Regions from separate parts of the Homo sapiens genome. Here regions 2, 3, 4, 5 and 6 are each linked to region 1. The links are contacts of gene promoters, found by promoter capture Hi-C in blood cells and fetal thymus (Javierre and others, 2016). All regions are on one chromosome and are shown on one strand. Each heading gives the region's core, a stretch centred on a gene start or on the middle of the fragment in contact. The rest is flanking DNA. Distances are from core to core; before and after follow the strand shown. Region 1 holds the start of PI15 (peptidase inhibitor 15). Region 2 has its middle 13 kb from the start of JPH1. Region 3 overlaps GDAP1 (ganglioside induced differentiation associated protein 1). Region 4 has its middle 35 kb from the start of GDAP1. Region 5 has its middle 53 kb from the start of GDAP1. Region 6 has its middle 69 kb from the start of GDAP1.

Region 1 (3,315 bases), core at 287-2,786:
CAAGGAGAAAAAAGTCAGCATGTTCTCTTAGAATACAAATAGGTTAGCGTCAGTAAGAACTTTGTCCAAAAAAGGGAAAAGACACCTACCCAGAGAATAAATCATGCATATGAAACCTATAATTTTAAGAAGTATTTTCAAGAAATGATATAGCTGATAAATATGACTGTGAGATAAAGCACAGAAAAAGTTCATGTGACTTTTTTTAAAGTGGACCTTCCAAATGTGATCAGTCAACATACCCCACTTTTTATCTATGATTCTTACATAAGATACAATTCACCAGTAGCTATGGAACTCACAGAAGAAAGTCTACATAGATTCTCTCTATCTGTCTGTCTCTGTCTCTCTGGACCTCTCTGTCTCTCTGATTCTGTGATGCAACAGTACTCAACATTATTAGGCACATAAGAACCTTAGGTTAAAATATGTAAAAAGTCCATATACCCGGACATATAAACACTCGTGGTCGTTTGAGATTCTGCAGATGTACAATATAAAGCTTTCTCACTCAGAACTTAAAAAAAAAAAAAAGAATTCTTCTTACCATATATTCCATATTTGCTGCCGGTGGGAACACTTTGCCCCGAACTTGATTATGATAATCAAGAATGGCGATCATGTCATTCTGCGAAATGTAGCGCTTCCGCCTGGCTTTGGGGATATCCGCTGAATCTAATTGTGCTTTCAGAGCTGCTTCAATATCAGTGAAATTATTGGTTGGCGGGGATGAGTCAGTGGAATTGAGTAGGACGACGGTACTTGCTTCACAGAGAAGGGAGAACAGGAGTGCACTGCTGACGGCAGAGATTGCTATCATTTTGAGGGGTGGAGAAGAAGAGGCCACCGAGTTTACTTTGCTTTAAAGCAGAAAGGTAGAGTTAGGGTCTATGAAAAAAAATAGGGCCAGAGGGTATGAATTTACAAAGACATCATTTGGGAGCATTGCTTGATTTGACTTTCTTCAAAAATCCAAACAAATGTTGAACTCAAGCCTAGGAGATAACCTACAGTAGAATCTCTATTCATTTTTTAGTGTCATGAGGCAGACCCCTAAGAGGAACTTTGTATAGCAGAGAAAAATAAACAGCATGACCACTAACCCTAAAATGAATGTGAACCATTTGCCCCAAATGTCTGAACCACAAAATATATTACTGCATATTTTCAGTGGGAAATTTTCAGCAATTGAAATTCACCTGGAGAGTGAAGAAAAAATGAATCACAGGTAACAACAGAGAATGTGCTGATAATGTCTGCCAGACATATAGACACACCAAGTGATAGAACACATACAAAAAAGTCATAGTAATCCAATCTCATTTCTTTAAAAAAATGTGAGCTACTTTAAAATCAATGCATGCAATATAAACTTGTTGAGCTAAATAGCTTACCTCTGCACAATGCCAAAATGAATATATTGTTCTTCCAAAAATTTAAGGTTCTTTGCTATGTGGTAGCATGAACTCTTGTAAGAGGAGTGTGTCTTTTTACAAACTCTCTGAGAGCAAAGCTCTGCAAGGTTTGAATGCTGCTGGCTAGAGGAGCAGCTAACAGCTTTTATATGTCACAGTTTGCAACGTCCAGAAAGGGCAGTCTTTCTAAGGGTCTCTCTTAGCCAAAATCAAAGGGGAGGGGTTTGGGGTAGAAAAAAACAGTGATTGGGTGGCAACCTTTTTATGTGGGTGGTGAGGAAATTGAGTCACACCCACAGCTTACAAAGTACAAGCCATAAAAGACAAACCCCTTTTTCTCTGGGCTTCCACCTTTTCTGTGAGTAATTTCTCTCATTTTATGCTTTCTAGTTCCTGGTTCCCATACAAAAAAGAAGAAACAAAGACAAAAAAAAAAAAGACTGTGGGTTCATGAAAAAACAGACAGTTGAGTAACAAGCAGTACATTTTTTTAAGACAGTAAATGACATGGGAGCTAAAAAGAACAAGCTGATATTAAATCAAGAGATCAGCTAACATAGTTAATCTGGGTGGCCACAAATATGATTCGAGAGGGATGCCAGGCAAATCGGTAGTAACCAAACTATAGCATATGATATTAGGATAATAGATGCTCAAGTGGCTGTGTTCTCTGCTTCCATGTGGCTGCATTCCTGTGCTTTATATATTTCTTCTTCTCTCTCTTATTTTACCTTCTCTCCCTTTTTTCTTTCTCTACAGAGTGAGGTCAGAAATTACTTGCTTTTTACCTGCCTTGTATAAAATGTGAATAGAGAAGCTCATGGCAAATGACAGCAGCCAAGATAACATCTGTTTCAGGTTTAGAGCATATAGTTGAAATTTTAAGCAGAGAATAGCTCAGCCTCTCAGGAAATGTATTAGAGGGCATAACACAGAGGCCATGAAGAATTTTAACAGCAGCAGCAGCTGCCAACAATTAGAAGTGCCTTGTTAGGAGGATGTCACAGGGGCAAAGTCTATGTCAGGCAAAGCAAGAAGAAGAATGTGAACATTGGTGCTCTATAATGAAAGGACCCTCCCCAAAATGCGTCATGATCTCATTAACAAAATGTGGACCACTTACAGTCAGTAGCAATAGGAATCCTGGAAAACACACGCTCTTCAGTTTAGAAACTTACTTAACTTACACTGATTTTTTCCAGCTTGCTAATGTGATTGTCTCCCACATGTTTCAGCAGAAGAAATACTATGTGAATTTACAGTCATCAGAAATGATGGTCATGTGGCACACTGGACAGGCAGCCAAGTTTCCTAGGATATATTCCCAGTTGGATCACGAGTAGTATGTGTGGTCAAATGCATACTGTTTAACTCTTCATTGGTGCACCTAAAAATGGGAGAGAAAAGATTCACGTTCTATGGTGAGACAGACATCATCAAGTTCTTTAAGAGGGTAGTGAGGTGTACCAGAGGTGTCACTAAAATTCAAACTACAGTGATGAGATACAGACTTTATAATAATATATACCAAAGTCCAGGTTTTGACACATTTTGATGACTATTCAACTCCTAACTAAAGTGAAATCATTTTAGGAGAGCCATAGCTGAAATATTGAGAGCTTTAAACAAGGAATTAATACTAAACTTGAAAAGGCATAAACAGATATATAAACTCAGGAGGTGAGCAAGGATATTATGAAACATTGGAGCAACTAGAGGAAATTCACATGGTTGTTCACAGCTGCAGATCTTAACAAGTGGAGCTGTCCAACTAGGGTTGCACCACTTTGGAAAGTATTCATGGCACCTTCAATGAATCTCAAATATGCTATATTAAGGATTCCTGAATTAAATCAGAGGTTAGATGAGAAACTCTCTGTAGGCCATCCAGCTCTAAGAT
Region 2 (3,315 bases), core at 427-2,926, 490 kb after region 1:
TGCATTTGGCAAGTTATACAAAGTGTTTGGAGCTCTCAGTTTTACAGGGCCTCTACTCAAACTTCCTTGCGAACTGTTCTTTATGTGCCTGAGAACAGGGCTCAGGTTTTCCAGGGCTCTTATATTTTCTTCCCACAACCAATGGATCAGTTTGTGGACTTGACTTTGGAGCCTAGTTCTCTAAGCCTTTTTCAGCCACATGGCCAAGGAGGCAAAGACCTCTCAGTCGCCTTTTTCTAATTCTGCTTGTCCTGGATACCATAAGCAGGAATCACAGAGATGTGTGATCTCGCTCAAGTTGGTCTCTCCTTAGTCTCAGATCTTAATGATCACTTGATCTTGACCATACCAAACCTTGGGGTCTAATGATCCCTTTTTAGGATGTTAAAAGGTATAATTTATCCTGTCCCTATGGATCTATGTGAGAAGAAATCATTACCTTTATTTTTTTTCCTCTAGGAATAATCCACTCAGGATTCCAAACAGAAGTCCACGTACCCATGGGAGTTCACCCATGTATCCTAAGGGGTCTGCTGATTCTTTCCAGATTTTTCATCTCCATGGGCTGTTACTTGATTTCAGAGGCTGATTTTATGTTTATGTTTAGGCTGACTTTGGCACTAAGTCCTTCTACTTTAATTGTTTCTGACTAATGAGAAGAAAAGCAGACCTAATACATAATTGATGCATCTCCACCGAGCAATAGCCAAATGGTATGCCAGCACACTGTACAAAGAAAGACTTCCTACTAGATCACAAAGCAGAGTCCTGAACAGCATCTAGCAGGACGCATGGGCTGAAATTAGGAGTGTGGCTCCATGGGTAGTACCGTAACATTTTAAAATGAAAAACATCATCTGTCACACTAAATTCAGGTTGTTAACTTGAATATTATTTGTTTTCAATTATGTTAGCTTTATGTTGTAAATAAACTATAAGCATACGGAGGTGTATCTTATATTTTATGTATCAAAGTACACATATACAATGATTGTAAATTTAAATAAAAATAATAAAATTTAATCCACCATGGGAGAAAGGTCTGAACACATTTTTGTTTTCTTTCAAAAGTTATTCCTGGATTTCTCAAGTTTAAAAATAAACACTGTTCTATAGTAGAGGGGTCACATCTTGCTTCAGGATACGTATCAGAACCAATAGGGAGGGCTAGAATTTAACAACCTTTTTGTATTTTCTAATACTACACTTCTGCCTATTTTGCTTTCTCTGCCCAACCTCAGCTATGGGAGGAGTGACTAAACAGTCATTGCTTCTTACTGAACTCTTAGAGTAAGATCACAAACAGGCCCTGGTCCCTGCCTTCCTCCCCACCATCATCTCTCACCAAGATCCTCTCCTTTGCTCAATGAGCCTTCTCAGTCCCTTCAATGTGCCACACTCATTGTGCCACACTCTTTTCATAATTATTTCCTCTTCTCCAGTTGAACTACTTACTTTTCTGGCTGTCTCCTACTCATCCTCCAGAGCTCGGCTTAAATGTCACTTTCTTAGAGAAGCATCTGAGCAATATCTATTGGAAGAATGGATGGGTGGATGGGTGGATGGATGGATGGATGGGTGGATGGGCGGAAGGCGACCACATAGAGGGATGGGTGTGTAGATGGGTGGATAGTGGATGGATAGATGATGGGTGGATGATGGATGAAGGATGAAAAGGTGGGTAGATAAATGGGTGAATGAATAGATGGTAGATGCATGGATGGATGGATGAATGAGTGGATAGATGGTGGGTGGATGAATGGGTGAGTGGGTGGGTGGATGATGGATGGATGAATGGGTGGGTGGATGGATGGATGAGTGATGGATGGATGGGTGAGTGGGTAGGTGGATGGATGGATGGATGGATGATGTATGGATGAACGGGTGGGTGGATAGTGGATAAATGGATAGACAGACGGATGGGTGGGTGAATGGACAAATAGACTGTAGATGGATGGTTGGATGGATGGATGCATGGGCAGGCAGGCAGATAGATGAATAAATGGTGGATGAATGGACAAATGAATGGATGGATGGGTAGGTGGGTGCAGGGATGGATGGGGAGGCCTTCCCTGATCTTGCAATCTAACTCAAAGTATCCCTTGCTATTCTTTTTTATAGCACTACTGTTTCTTCTGTAGCACAACAATTGGCAATGATATATTGATTTAATATCTATCCTTTCAGTGGACTGTAAATTCCCTGAGGGCAGGGAGTTAACGACCTTATACCCATTACAAAGCACTCTATTTAGAAGGTACTTGCTACATATATATTCAGTAAATGAAAAAAGGAAATCTTGAAGATGATATTCACATCACTGAAATAGCTGTAAGGAGTGGAAAAGACCTTTTCTAACATTTTTAAATATTTTAATTAATGAATTATGTTAACATGGAACAATCTAAAAGAACAATACATTTTGAGAATAAGTAACCTGTGGCCTTTGACAGGAAGAATCATAAACTGAAACAGCATTTGAAGATGATCCTCCTCAGACATTAATCAGAGACAAAATATACACCATAGTCAGTATGAAAATGACCTCAGAAGCTGTATTTTGTAGGCAAAATTCCACTACTGCTTGGACAGAGTAGTTCTTGGGATATATATGATTCAGCAGTCACCACACGCTTATAGTAGTAGAAAAGAAAAATTTGGTTTTTTTCATCCAACAATAAAGAGCATCTTGAAAAAAAATCTGAAGTAGGTGGTCCCAGGATCACTTGAACATACTCTCTTCCTGTGTGTTCAACCCTATACCCCTCCTGTCTCAACATTGCTCTTAACCCCCAGGAGTGGTAGACAGGAAATCCAGCTAATCCAGATGCTGATACTCACAAACAGGGACAGGCCAATGTGCCCAGTTGCCACAATGTCCAGCTAGTCCAGGGCCATATGAAACTCGTCAGCTCAATCAAGGGTTCCAGCCATTCTAAAGTGGCTGGAAACCACAAAGGGCTAGGGCAGGGAGTACTTTACTGTGTCATCACCTAAAAGCAGAGCTCTTTGGGGCTTACTTATCCCAGATACTGAGCCCCACTACTTCTCCTAGGTGGATGAAAGAGACAGACTTCCCAAGACCAGTGGTCCCTAGACAGCACCTCCTGAGTTCAGTCTCCAGATGTTGGGCAAGAGAAGACAACTTACAAGTCCACCCACTGGTTTGGCCTAGTTATCAGGGTTTTGTTAAGGTCTTGGTTTCAAGGCCACCTCATAATGGCTGGTTTTGTTTTGTAAATGTCAACTATCCATTGTACACTTATCCTTAGAAGACATGCTATTATATAGTACCTTTGAATTTTGGTTTTAAAT
Region 3 (2,813 bases), core at 1-2,500, 460 kb after region 1:
TTTGGTGAGACCTAAGAATGTTCCCATGAATAATACTGATGTTGAAAAGAGAGAAAGAATATAAATGAGAACCTACCTGGGGTTTCTTCATTTCTTCTTTGCAATTCAGTTTCAACCTGATCCAAGACTTTCTCCAACTCATCAAGAATTTTCTTCAAATACTTGACATTGTCATGATCAAGCAGCTTTGACTAATTAACCACCAAAAAAAGAAACCAAACATATTATTTGCACCTTTAAAAAAAATAAATCTAGGTAAAGCAGATACAAACTCTTACAGAGTTCAGCCTATTTTAGACAACGAGAAGAAATAGAAAAACTCAGCAAAAAAAAAAAAAAAAAAAAGAGAGAGAGAGAGCTAAGTTGAAGGGAAATATCCCAGCTGTGAAAATGACCCAGGAGCAGACCCACCACTCACTGGCAGCTCCTATGAGGCCAGATGACCACAGAAGGCAAAGAATGGGAGGGACACGAAGAGCCATCTGCCAAGCCCAACTCAGGAAAAGAATTCTAGCAGCCGTAATTGAAAGAGTAGCTGAAGGGTCAGGGATGAGTAAGAAGTCCGAGTGAAGGAGTTAAACGGCGAGTGGAGAGTCAGTCAAGTGACTGTGAGTGCAGGTGTTTCTTCTGAGGAGCTCGTTTAGCTACGATAGGATAAAGGAAGGTGGGAAGTTGGGGAGGGTTGGGAGTGCTGCTGTTTTCTACACTTTTAATATGAGAGAAGCTTGCAATAGTTGCTGGGCCCGGGGAAGGAATCAACAGAAGGAGAAAGGCTGACCATAAAGCACACTCCTCAGGGGGCAAAGCAAGTCAGGGCGACACATGGAGGGATGTAGGTCTAGCGAGGACTTCCAGTGGTGGAATACCTGAAATGACAGATTCTAGAATATGTTATGAACTTCCTTTGCATTTCATAACTTTTTTGGCAACCAGCATGCTCAATATCTGCTTGTTAAGCACTTGTCATCAAGTTTCAATATCAAGTCTAATAAAAAATTCTTTCTAAAAGGAGAACATAAGCCAAAGGTAACATGTGTACTGGTGAACTGCAATATTTAAAAGAAGATATTCTAGAAATAGTGGTACTTTACAAAAAGTAGAACATTTACTCCGTGCAGTGTATGTCAACTGAGGACAGCTGATTGGCTTACTTTAAGTCGTTTCTGTTTTGCAATGTATGCTTCTTGTAAATCTGGGTTTTCTTCAGCAAGTTTCTTCAGCTCAGACTCTGTGTTTCCAATTTGGCCTGATAATAAAAACATTTTGGAAACAGAAAATTATTTTCTCCCTTCTACACCAGTAACAAGGAGAAGCAGAGAAACTCAATGACAAGAGCATGAGCTCTGGGGCTCATGCCCTGCTTCTCTGCCTTGGGCTTACCCTGTCTATGCCTCAGTTTCCTCACCTTTCAAATGGAACCATAAGAGTATCTGCCGGCTGGGCGCGGTGGCTCACACCTGTAATCCCAGCACTTTGGGAGGCCGAGGCGGGAGGATCAGGAGGTCAAGAGATCGAGACCATCTTGGCCAACGTGGTGAAACCCCGTCTCTACTAAAAATACAAAAATTGTCTGGGCGTGGTGGCGCATGCCTGTCATCCCAGCTACTCGGGAGGCTGAGGCAGGAGAATCACTTGAACTCAGGAAGCAGAGGTTGCAGTGAGCCGAGATGATGCCACTGCACGCCAGCATGGAAACAGAGCGAGACTCCATCCAAAAAAAAAAAGAAAAGAAAAAAACAAAGAATATCTGCCATGAAGACTAAATGAGAAGCTTCATGGGAAGCACTTAGAGCAAGGCCCAGCACTTTACAGTGCTCAGTGCAGGCTTGCTGCTCCGCCTTCCTCTACCTTTCAAGCTTTCTATAATGAACTCCTATATGAAGGGAGGAAAAAGCCTTATTTTTAAAAAATATTAACTATAGGTCATAGAATTATAGTCAAAACTCTTGTTTCAAATACTATAAAGGGTATTTATGAAGAGGAGGAGGAATAAGAGGAAAGAGAAGCAGGAAGAGAGGGCAGTGGAGAAAAAGGAAGAGAAGGGAGAAAAGGGAAGAGATGAAAAGGGAAGGGAGAGGAGAGGAAAAGGAGGGGTATCAAAAAGGAAAAAAAGAATAATAAGAATAATAAAGGTGAGTATCACATAATGGGGAACACATGGTTTCTGGATTTAGAAGATCTGAGTTTGAGTGTTTCTGATCAACATTCCCAAAGTGTGACCACTGCCACAATCCTTTCCCTTCTTATCTCCAATTATCTCTGCTATAAAGCACACCTCCTGCTCCACAGATCATGCACTGACTATTCTCATGACAGGAGGAAGGCAGAAAGCTGGATGTCACAACTCAATCCCAATAAATCTACTATCACTGAACATAGAGACAGAGTAATAGTTAGACACCCTCTAGTCCAGTTTCCTCAAATAACGAAAACAACAATTAAGGACCAGTAACATGAACTCAACTGCCCATAATCCTAGGCAGATCCCAGGTTTTCAGATTCCTAGTCCATCTGTTCATGAGAACATGTTATATTCTTTACTCTTCCATAATCCACTCTTCTGAGTTTTACCCAAGATTGGCCCTCAAAGCCAAGAGCTGATAAATCAGGTCCTATAGACAATAAATGTCCAATTGAGCAAGTGAAGCACAGATTAATCCGACTGGTTCATGGATCGATCCATAACATGCACATCCATGAAGCAAACTCAACAACCCTATTCCCAATCTTCTTTTAGTGACCATGAGACATGCTAGGTCTCAAAATGAATTAAAAGAAAGTGTCAGACAGAATTCCAGGTCTTTAAAATGTTT
Region 4 (3,315 bases), core at 278-2,777, 440 kb after region 1:
CAATGCTATTCCCATCAAGCTACCATCGACTTTCTTCACAGAATTAGAGAAAACTACTTTAAATTTCATATGGAACCAAAAAAGAGCCTGTATAGCCAAGACAATCACAAGCAAAAGCAACAAACCTAGAGGCATCACGCTACCTGACTTCCAGCTATATTACAAGGCTACAGTAACAAAAATCGCATGGTACTGGTACCAAAACAGAGATATAGAGCAATGGAACAGAACAAAAGCCTCAGGAATAACGCCACACATCTACAACCATCTGATTTTTGACAAACCTGACAAAAGCAATGAGGAAAGGATTCCCTATTTAATAAATGGTGTTGGGAAAACAGGCTAGCCATATGCAGAAAGCTGAAACTGGACCCCATCCTTACACCTTATACAAAAATTAATACAAGATAGATTAAGGACTTAAACATAAGACCTAAAATCACAAAAACCCTAGAGGAAAACCTAGGCAATACCATTCAGGACATAGGCATGGGCAAAAACTTATGACGAAAGCACCAAAAGCAATGGCAACAAAAGCCAAAATTGACAAATGGGATCTAATTAAACTAAAGAGCTTCTGCACAGCAAAAGAAACTATCATCAGACTGAACAGGAAACCTACAGAATGGGAGAAAATATTTGCAGTCTATCCATTTGACAAAGGGATAATATCCAGAATCTATAAGAAACTTAAACAAATTTACAAGAAAAACACAAACAACCCCATCAAAAAGTGGGTGAAGGATATGAAACAGACAGATCTCAAAAGAAGGCATTTATGCGGCCAATAAACATATGAAAAAAAGCTCATCATCACTGTTCATTAGAGAAATGCAAATCAAAACCACAATGAGATACCATCTCACACCAATTAGAATGGTGATCATTAAAAAGTCAGGAAACAACAGATGCTGAAGAGAATGTGGAGAAACAGGAATGCTTTTATACTGTTGGTGGGAGTTTAAATTAGTTCAACCACTGTGGAAGACAGTGTGGGGATTCCTTAAGGATCTACAACCAGAAATACCATTTGACCCAGCAATCCCATTACTAGGTATATACCCAAAGGATTATATAGATTATATATCATTCTACTATAAAGACACATGCACACGTATGTTTATTGCAGCACTGTTCACAATAGCAAAGACTTGGAACCAGTCCAAATGTCCATCAATGATAGATTGGATAAAGAAAATGTGGCACATATACACCATGGAATACTATGTAACCACAAAAAAGGATGAGTTCGTGTTCTTTGCAGGGACATGGATGAAGCTGGAAACCATCATTCTCAGCAAACTAACACAGGAGCAGAAAACCAAACACTGTATGTTCTCACTCATAAGTGGGGGTTGAACAATGAGAACACATGGACACAGGGAGGGGAACATCACACACCGGGGCCTGTTGGTGGTGGGGGCGGTTAGGGGACGGATAGCATTAGGAGAAATACCTAATGTACATGATGGGTTGATGGGTGCAGCAAACCACCATGGCACTTGTATACCTATGTAACAAACCTGCACATTCTGCACATGTATCCCAGAACTTAAACTATAATAATAATAATAAAAAGATCTATATACCACCTATCTCTTTATCCATAAAATAAGCGACTTGGGTTTGGTAATATCTAATTCCTACCGCAGAAGATGTACCATGATCTTTAAAAAATTCCTTAAAGTCCCTTTCCAGTTCTGTGATTCTAGTATTTTAGTAGAAGTTAATAGATTAGTGTTTAGCTATTTAGCATCCATATTATTTGCTTTGCTAGCAAAGCATTCAACTGTGGTTTGGAATAGATCCATACCCATATGGATATTGTTCCTTAGTATACTTTTTAGTGTAATTTCAACATGTAAAGTCAGTATTGCGACTTCAGCTATAAATAAAATGGGCATAGTTGTAGTAACTGCAAAATATAGAGTGGATTTTACTCAAGACATAAAGATGTAAGTCGGTGCAGCTACACAATGATACATAAGCATGGCATTTCGTTGGCGACAGAGATCAACTTCTTACAGTGTTACTTAGTGCTTTTTTAATGAAGTTATATTGAATTTTTGTAGTGAAACCTGAAACCAAATGAAATCTTCTTGATGTGGGGTTTATTTCTAGAGGTTTGGGGTTTCTCTGTAAACTTGAAATCCATGTGTGGTTCACAGAAAATGTTGGTAAGACTCAATCAACTTTTGGAAAACCTGGATAGAATTTCGAGCAATTAGAAACAAGAGACTGAATGTGTTTTGTTTACTTTAGGCCAAATTTTGTGGGTTTTAAATTTAGAGTTGAACAATTGGGGTTTAAGTTCCATTCATAGGGAAAACATGACTTCCTAGTGGAAAGAAAAGACCTGAAGAAAACAATTTTTACTTTGGAAAAATATAAAAATTGTTCATGCATGGGCTCTGGAACCAAAACAGTGGTTGAAAAAGAGATTGCCTGAGAAGAATTTTTAAAAATTGTATAATACAGTTTGTTACTGCCAGTTTTTATTTCCCCCATTGAAGTGAATTACCAGGAGCTACAAGAGGCGTGAACACACACAATCTTCTCGGGGAAGAAAGTGTTAACTTACATTATATATTAATGGACTAAATTCAACAAATTGTTTTTAAAATAAACATCAGAATGTTTTAAAAAGCAAGCAGTTATCAGTGCATTGTCTGAATTCAGCTGATTGTATTCCAAATAAGAAGTTCCTGTGAAGTAAATAATAAAATCATTATTCTCATCATTTCAGAGGCAGGAAATCTGCACCTTGGAGTTAAGGGTTGAATTCATGCGTGTTATGTAACAACATGAGACTTAAACGATCTTACTTCTTAGATACCTACAACCACCAAGATGCAGGGTTGATTCACAGGTTGGAAAAAATATCTGTTATATTTGTGAGTGTATGTGTTTCCTTTCTGGCATTTCATAGATTTTGATTGGAAGGCTTCATGGAAGAAGTGAATCGGCAATAGGTGCAGCTAAAAACCAAACCTGATAAACTGGCAAACTAAGAGAAAAATAACTTCTTCCAACTGTATGGAGAGAGTATGGAAAAGAGGTATGGCTCATTAATGTCAGAGGATGTAGATAAAGAAGTGATTAAGCCTCTGACTGGAGGAAGATGAAAAGAAAGATTTGGAAATGAGATTTCTGTCAAGGCTTATATATAGTGTTGGATTCTCTTTTGCTAGAGAAACACATTTTTAAATTAAGGATGGAAATATTTGTAGAAACTGAAAAACAGATTATTAAATCTAAAACTTTTGAAATCAGTTCTACTACTCAAAATGCAGCCAGGTCCTTCTCTCTCAAGAG
Region 5 (3,315 bases), core at 364-2,863, 420 kb after region 1:
CCGTTTTATATAAGACATGAGCATCTTTGAATTATGGTATCAGCGGTTGAGGGAGGGTCTTGGAAACAATCCCCCATGGACACTAAGAGATTACTTACTCTGCACCCTCAGTGTCTCAAGAATATCCTCAAATGGTGAGAGAAGCAGATGGGAAGGAGAGATAACACTGACATAGGTTCAAAAGTCATGGAGGAAAGAGAACGGTCTCCCTAAAGATCAGCTGACAATATCAATAAGCATGGACTTGTAAGGAACAGAGCTTTGAGAGGTATTACAGAATAGTGGTTAAGAATGCAATCTCTGAGGCCAGACAGACTTGCTTCTGGAGTCTTCACTCCACACCGAGTAGCCATGTGACCTTAGGTGAGTGACTCAGCTTTTCTACATCTCAGTATATTCACTTCTTAAAATGAGAATAACTTAATAACTTATATTAAATATATTTATATAATATACATCTTGAAGAGTTTTGCCATGATTGATTCTGTTAATTCATATAAATGGCCCGGCACATAGTAATCATCTAGAAAATGATATTACTATTACTATTAATGATATTACTAAATACTAGCTACTATAGGTTGGTGAAAAAGTAATTGTGGTTTTGCCATTTAAAAGTAATAGTCAAAACTGCAATTACTTTTGCACCAACCTAATACTATTATTACAGTGATGTGATTAATAAGCCTAAGACAGGATTTTTTTTAAGTTAATGCACAAAGTAAATAATTCTCACTTAGCAATCAAATGAGAGTATGCAGGTATCACTTAACATATTCCTGGTACATTGTAAATACTCAAGAAATAGCCATTATCATTATTTTTATTAATCACGAATTAATTTGTCTCGTGATCTTTTTATTATCATAGAGATTTCTAACATTCTCAATTATTTGTACTGGATAAACTCAAAATACTATCCTATGATCTTTCTTTTTTACAGGCTCATATTTAAAGACTGGTTATTCACACATTTTGCTCAACAAAGAGAATAAAAGACAAAACTTTGCAGATATAGACTGTCAAAGCTTTATACATAACACCAACTTAGTTTGAGTATTGAGTTTTTAAATCTCAGTTGAGTCTTAACAAAAAAGCAGCTCCATCAAGGTTCACATTTAAACATAGGTAGACAGGCAGTACGCTTCTAATGATTACAGTTCATCCTCACTGTTCTATCAAGTGATCTGTAAAAGTTACTAACACATACACTACAGAGACCCGGCAAGGTCAGAAATCTGCCCAAATGTCTTACCCAAATGCTGCTGACCATAATCCATATACTTTTACTGGAACTTCTGGTGAAATTTAGTAGATATGCTTCACCAGCAAAAGCTAAAACGTTAAGTGTGTAAAACTTATAAATATTTGGCCAGCTTGTTTAGAAAAGAAAATTCCACCATCTGGGTTCATTTGCAATTCTAGTCATCTCCTATGTAGAACGGGTAAACTGAGATATTCACCCAAATAAAACATGTAAACATGCCCTGTGCTTTTCTCTGACAGGATAGAAAAAAAATTAATAATTAAACTTTTAAATCTGTTTGCAATCCCCTCTTCTTCTATTTCCTCCTTTTAGATTTTATTCAAATAAAACAATAAAATGCAGTCAATACTGTAATGAAATTGGTAGGATGGAGACTCCAATACTAATAAACCTTAAACAATTAAGATAAAGCATCTATATCATTTTTAAAAACCCAGTGTAGTCAAACTAAATGAAATATTTAAATGTTTTTAATAGGCCAAATACACCCAGAGAATGACTCTCCCATCACTGCGAGATATAAAATTAGCTTATTTTAACATCAGATTGTTTGGGCACTATTATCGTGTATGTGTTTGTAATGAAAATGTCCATTTTTATATTATAGAACTATTTCTATCCAGGTGCTATAAATTCCTACATATCCATTAACTTTTTTCTCATTAACTTTTGAAAAACATCATACATTGAAACTTGAATTGTCTTTACTTAGAACAACTCAACAACAACAACAACAACAAAAGAATAAGAATAATCAATTATATATCTGTTCAGATATATCTTGACAAATAATTTTATGAAGGAGTAACTTCTACTAAATTGGAAATTTTACAGGTTAACTTTAAGATTTTTTGTATATGCAAAAAAGTCATTTGTTTATATTTAAAGTAAAAGTATTTTTTGCTTTTAGTGCAAAAAATTAAAAGCTTTGGGGAAGGAGCCAAGATGGCCGAATAGGAATAGCTCCAGTCTATAGCTCCCAGCATGAGCGACACAGAAGACGGGTGATTTCTGCATTTCCATCTCAGGTACCAGGTTCATCTCACTAGGGAGTGCCAGAAGTGGGCGCAGGACAGTGGGTGCAGCGCACCATGCGCGAGCCGAAGCAGGGCGAGGCATTGCCTCACTCAGGAAGCGCAAGGGGTCAGGGAGTTCCCTTTCCTAGTCAAAGAAAGGGGTGACAGACGGCACCTGGAAAATCGGGTCACTCACACCCTAACACTGCGCTTTTCCGAAGGGCTTAAAAAACGGTGCACCAGGAGATTATATCCCGCAACTGGCTCGGAGGGTCCTACGCCCACGGAGTCTCGCTGATTGCTAGCACTGCTGTCTGAGATCAAACTGCAAGGTGGCAGCGAGGCTGGGGGAGGGGCGCCCGCCATTGCCCAGGCTTGCTTAGGTAAACAAAGCAGCCGGGAAGCTCCAATTGGGTGGAGCCCACCACAGCTCAAGGAGGCCTGCCTGCCTCTGTAGGCTCCACCTCTGGGGGCAGGGCACAGACAAACAAAAAGGCAGCAGTAACCTCTGCAGACTTAAATGTCCCTGTCTGACAGCTTTGAAGAGAGCAGTGGTTCTCCCAGCACGCAGCTGGAGATCTGAGAACGGGCAGACTGCCTCCTCAAGTGGGTCCCTGACCCCTGACCCCTGAGCAGCCTAACTGGGAGGCACCCCTAGTAGGGGCAGACTGACACCACACGGCCGGGTACTCCTCTGAGACAAAACTTACAGAGGAACGATCAGACAGCAGCATTCGCGGTTCAAGAAAATCCGCTGTTCTGCAGACACCGCTGCTGATACCCAGGCAAACAGGGTCTGGACTGGACCTCTAGCAAACTCCAACAGACCTGCAGCTCAGGGTCCTGTCTGTTAGAAGGAAAACTAACAAACAGAAAGGACATCCACACCAAAAACCCATCTGTACATCACCATCATCAAAGACCAAAAGTAGATAAAACCACAAAGATGGGGAAAAAAACGGAGCAGAAAAACTGGAAACTCTAAAAAGCAGAGCGCCTCTCCTCCTCCAAAGGAACGCATTTCCTCACCAG
Region 6 (3,315 bases), core at 289-2,788, 410 kb after region 1:
CACTAGATTGCTGAAACATTAAAAAAAAAATACAGGAATCAGTATACCACAGTGTAATTTACAATGAACACACTTTGGTCCCATTTCTACTATCTACTACCCACATAACCTTGAACACAAAAGACAAACTGATGTTCGTTGTCTTTATCTGTATAATGGTGATAATAATAACTACTTCAGAGAGTCACATTAAGGAAGAAATGAAGTAGGTAATGCAAAGCACTCCGCACAGCATCTGACACATTCAAGAGACGGTAGCTGCAGGTGTTGTTACTGCTGCTGTTGTTACTGTTTGTGTTGTTATAGGACAGTGAACCATTAGAATCCTTTATCCTCTGAAATTTCTCACCAACATTTTACTTGGCTTTATTCTATGCTAACCTACAATTATAATATATAAGAGTTAAAGGAAGCTTAGAGTTCTCTTTGATACCTTCATTTCCTAAGTGTAGAAAGTAAGGCCCTGAAAATTAAGCAACTGATCCAGAAACATGAACCTGGGTCTATAAATTACAAATGCCAGGCTTTTCCTACTTTATTATGTTGATACTCAACCAGGGCCTGAGCATAAAAGACTGACCACTTCCATTTTTTATGACACTCCACTATAATTTAAAAAATGAAGTTCCCACCAAAATTCCAATAGCCTTTTCTTGCAGAAATAAAAAAGCCAGTCTTCAAATTTATATGGAATTGCATGGGATCCCAAACAGCCAAAACAATCCAGAAAAAGAACAAAGTTGGAGGCCTCATATTTCCGAATCTCAAAACCTACTGCAAAACTACAGTAATTAAAACAGTGTGGTATTGTCATAAGGACAAACATAGAGACCAATGGAATAGAATTGAGAGCTCAGAAATAAATCCATATATGTATGGCCAATTTTTTGTCATCAAGAGTCCCAAAACCATTTCAATGGGGAAAATGGTCTCTTCAACAAATGGTGCTGAGAAACTGGATATCCACATGCAAAAGAATGAAGGTGGACTGGCTACATCACACCATATATAAAAATTAGCTGAAAATAGATCAATGCCCTAAGTATAAAAGCTGAAACCAGAGAACCCCTAGAAGAAAACAGAGATAATTCTTAATAACCTTGGATTTGGCAATAGATTCTTGGATATGACACCAAAAGCATGAGCAAGAAAAGAAAAAATAAATATAATGTCATTAAATTTAAAAATGTTTTCTATTAAAAGACATTATCAAGAAAAGGCAACCTACAGGGTGTAGGAAAATATTTTCAAATAATAGCTCTCTTGGGTCTAGTGTCCAGAATACATAAACTCTTACAACTCAATGACAAGAAAAGCAAGCATCCCAATTTTAAAATAGGCAAATCCCCAAACCCGAATATGTTCTCCATTGCTACAGTTTTTTCTTTCCAAGAATGTAATATAAATGGAATGTAACCTGTTGAGACTGGCCTCTCTTACTCTGAATGCCTTTGAGCTTCCTCCAAGTTGTTGCATGTATCAATAGGACATTCTTTTTCATTGTTCAGAACTATTACATTATATGAATACCCCACAGTTTATCATTCACTTGTTGGAAGACATTTGGATGGTTTCTACTTGGAGGCAATTATGAAGAAAACCACCATAAACATTTATATAAGCGTTTTGTGTGAACACAAGTTTTTGTTTCTCTACAGTAGACACCTAGAAGTGGAATTTTTGAGTTATATGGTAAGTGCAGGTTTAACTATAAGAAACTGCCGAAGAATGTTTCAGAGTGACTACACCATCTTGCTTTCCCAGGAGCGATGTATGAGACTTTCACTTGATCTGCATTCTCCCGCACTTGGTATTGCCAGTATGTTTAATTTAACCATTCCAATAAACGTTTTGCTGTTATTTTACCATGCTTCTAATTTGAATTTCTTTAACAATTAATGATGCTAAATAACTATGAAGTGGTTATTTGCTATCTGTATATCCTCTTTGATGAAATGTCTGTTAAAGTCTTTTGTCTATTTTTTTAATTGAATAGTTTGTTATAATTGTTGCATTTGATAGTTGTTTATATGTTTTAAATACATGACCTTTGCTGAATATGAGATTTGCCAATATTTTCTACCAGTCTGTATTTTGTCTTTTCCTTGTCTTAACACTTAATGCAGAGCTCTTAACAGAGAGCAAAAGTTTTATTTTAGATGAAGTCCATTCTATCAAGATTTCCTTTTATGCACCATGCTTTTAGTGTCATGCCTAAGATTTCTTTGCCTAATCCAGGGCACAACAGTCCCTTGTCCTCTTGTAAAACTTTTATAGTTACTTGTTGTTCATCTATATATGTGAAGTAATTTGAGTTAATTTTTCAAAGCATTAGATTTAGGTTGAGGTTTTTAATATTGATATTCAATTGTTCCTATACTACTTGCCAAAAACATTATAATATCTCTGCTAAATTGCCTTTGCTTCTTTGTTAAAAATCAATTGGCCATATTTCTGTGAGTTTATTTCCTAGACTCTCTGTTTTGTTCAATTGACCCATATGCTTATCCCTTCACCAATGCCACATCAACTTGAATACTGTAGCTTTGTGGTAAGTCTTAAAACTGGGTAGCATAATTTCCCCAACTTGGTCTTCTCTTTAGCCAATTGTTTTGGCTATTGTAGTTCTTTTGCTTTTCCATGCAAATTTTAGAACAAGCTTATCTATATCTACAAAAACATCTGCCGGGATTTTGATTGGAATGGCATTAAATGTACAAATCAGTTTGGAAGAATTGAAATCTTTGAAATGTTGAGATTCCCAATCCATGAAAACAATTTGTCTCTCCACTTATCTAGGCCTTCTTAGATTTCTTTCATCAGCAATTTGTCATTTTCAATATATAGATCCCAGTACTTGTTTTGCTAGATTTATGCCTATGTATTTCAAAGCTATTGAATTGGTAGTTTTCAAATTTTTTCTTTGCAATTGTTTATTCCTAGCATATAAAAGTAGGATAGATATTCATGTGTTTATCTTACATTCTTTGACCTTGATAAACTCACTTGTTAATTTACAATATTTGTTTATATTCATCTTGGGATTTTCTTTTTCTTTTCCTTTTTTTTTTTTTTTTTTTTTTGAGATGGAGTTTCACTCTTGTTGCTCAGGCTGGAGTGCAATGGCACAATCTCAGCTCACTGCAACCTCCGCCTCCTGGGTTGAAGCAATTCTCCTGCCTTGGCCTCCCGAGTAGTTGGGCTTACAGGTGTGTGCCACCACACCCAGCTAATTTTTGTATTTTTAGTACAGACGGGGTTTCACCATGTTGGCTGGGCGCATTGGCTCACGCCTGTAATCCCAGTACTTTGGAA

The links. The method cuts DNA at HindIII sites, captures the fragments that hold promoters and counts their contacts. A CHiCAGO score of 5 or more calls a contact.
Region 2: a fragment that was not itself captured here is called in contact with the fragment with the promoter of PI15 in region 1 in 1 of 17 cell types (monocytes); the score reaches 5.3 in monocytes.
Region 3: a contact is called between a fragment that was not itself captured here and the fragment with the promoter of PI15 in region 1, in 5 of 17 cell types (erythroblasts, M2 macrophages, M0 macrophages and 2 more). The highest score is 8.6, in erythroblasts.
Region 4: a contact is called between a fragment that was not itself captured here and the fragment with the promoter of PI15 in region 1, in 3 of 17 cell types (monocytes, M2 macrophages and endothelial precursors). The highest score is 6.5, in monocytes.
Region 5: a fragment that was not itself captured here is called in contact with the fragment with the promoter of PI15 in region 1 in 4 of 17 cell types (endothelial precursors, M2 macrophages, megakaryocytes and 1 more); the score reaches 6.9 in endothelial precursors.
Region 6: a contact is called between a fragment that was not itself captured here and the fragment with the promoter of PI15 in region 1, in 3 of 17 cell types (M0 macrophages, M2 macrophages and endothelial precursors). The highest score is 6.2, in M0 macrophages.

The regions. Positions count from the first base shown.
Region 1 is chr8:74,822,755-74,826,069 of GRCh38, reverse strand. It overlaps PI15 (peptidase inhibitor 15), which reads right to left and starts at 1,536. Exons shown (of 6, transcript NM_015886.5): 1 at 1,395-1,536; 2 at 548-860. The coding sequence starts at 820. The HindIII fragment of the contact is 3,900 bases long and covers 505-3,315 here.
Region 2 is chr8:74,333,000-74,336,314 of GRCh38, reverse strand. No RefSeq gene overlaps it. Among named protein-coding and RNA genes, the nearest start is that of JPH1, 13 kb to the right of the region's middle. The HindIII fragment of the contact is 6,009 bases long and covers 1-3,315 here.
Region 3 is chr8:74,360,317-74,363,129 of GRCh38, reverse strand. GDAP1 (ganglioside induced differentiation associated protein 1) reads right to left here. Exons shown (of 6, transcript NM_018972.4): 4 at 1,152-1,246; 5 at 77-191. Among named protein-coding and RNA genes, the nearest start is that of GDAP1, 11 kb to the right of the region's middle. The HindIII fragment of the contact is 1,047 bases long and covers 727-1,773 here.
Region 4 is chr8:74,383,440-74,386,754 of GRCh38, reverse strand. It overlaps a transcript of GDAP1 not described here. Among named protein-coding and RNA genes, the nearest start is that of GDAP1, 35 kb to the right of the region's middle. The HindIII fragment of the contact is 4,646 bases long and covers 1-3,315 here.
Region 5 is chr8:74,401,589-74,404,903 of GRCh38, reverse strand. It overlaps a transcript of GDAP1 not described here. Among named protein-coding and RNA genes, the nearest start is that of GDAP1, 53 kb to the right of the region's middle. The HindIII fragment of the contact is 1,165 bases long and covers 1,031-2,195 here.
Region 6 is chr8:74,417,526-74,420,840 of GRCh38, reverse strand. It overlaps a transcript of GDAP1 not described here. Among named protein-coding and RNA genes, the nearest start is that of GDAP1, 69 kb to the right of the region's middle. The HindIII fragment of the contact is 2,246 bases long and covers 416-2,661 here.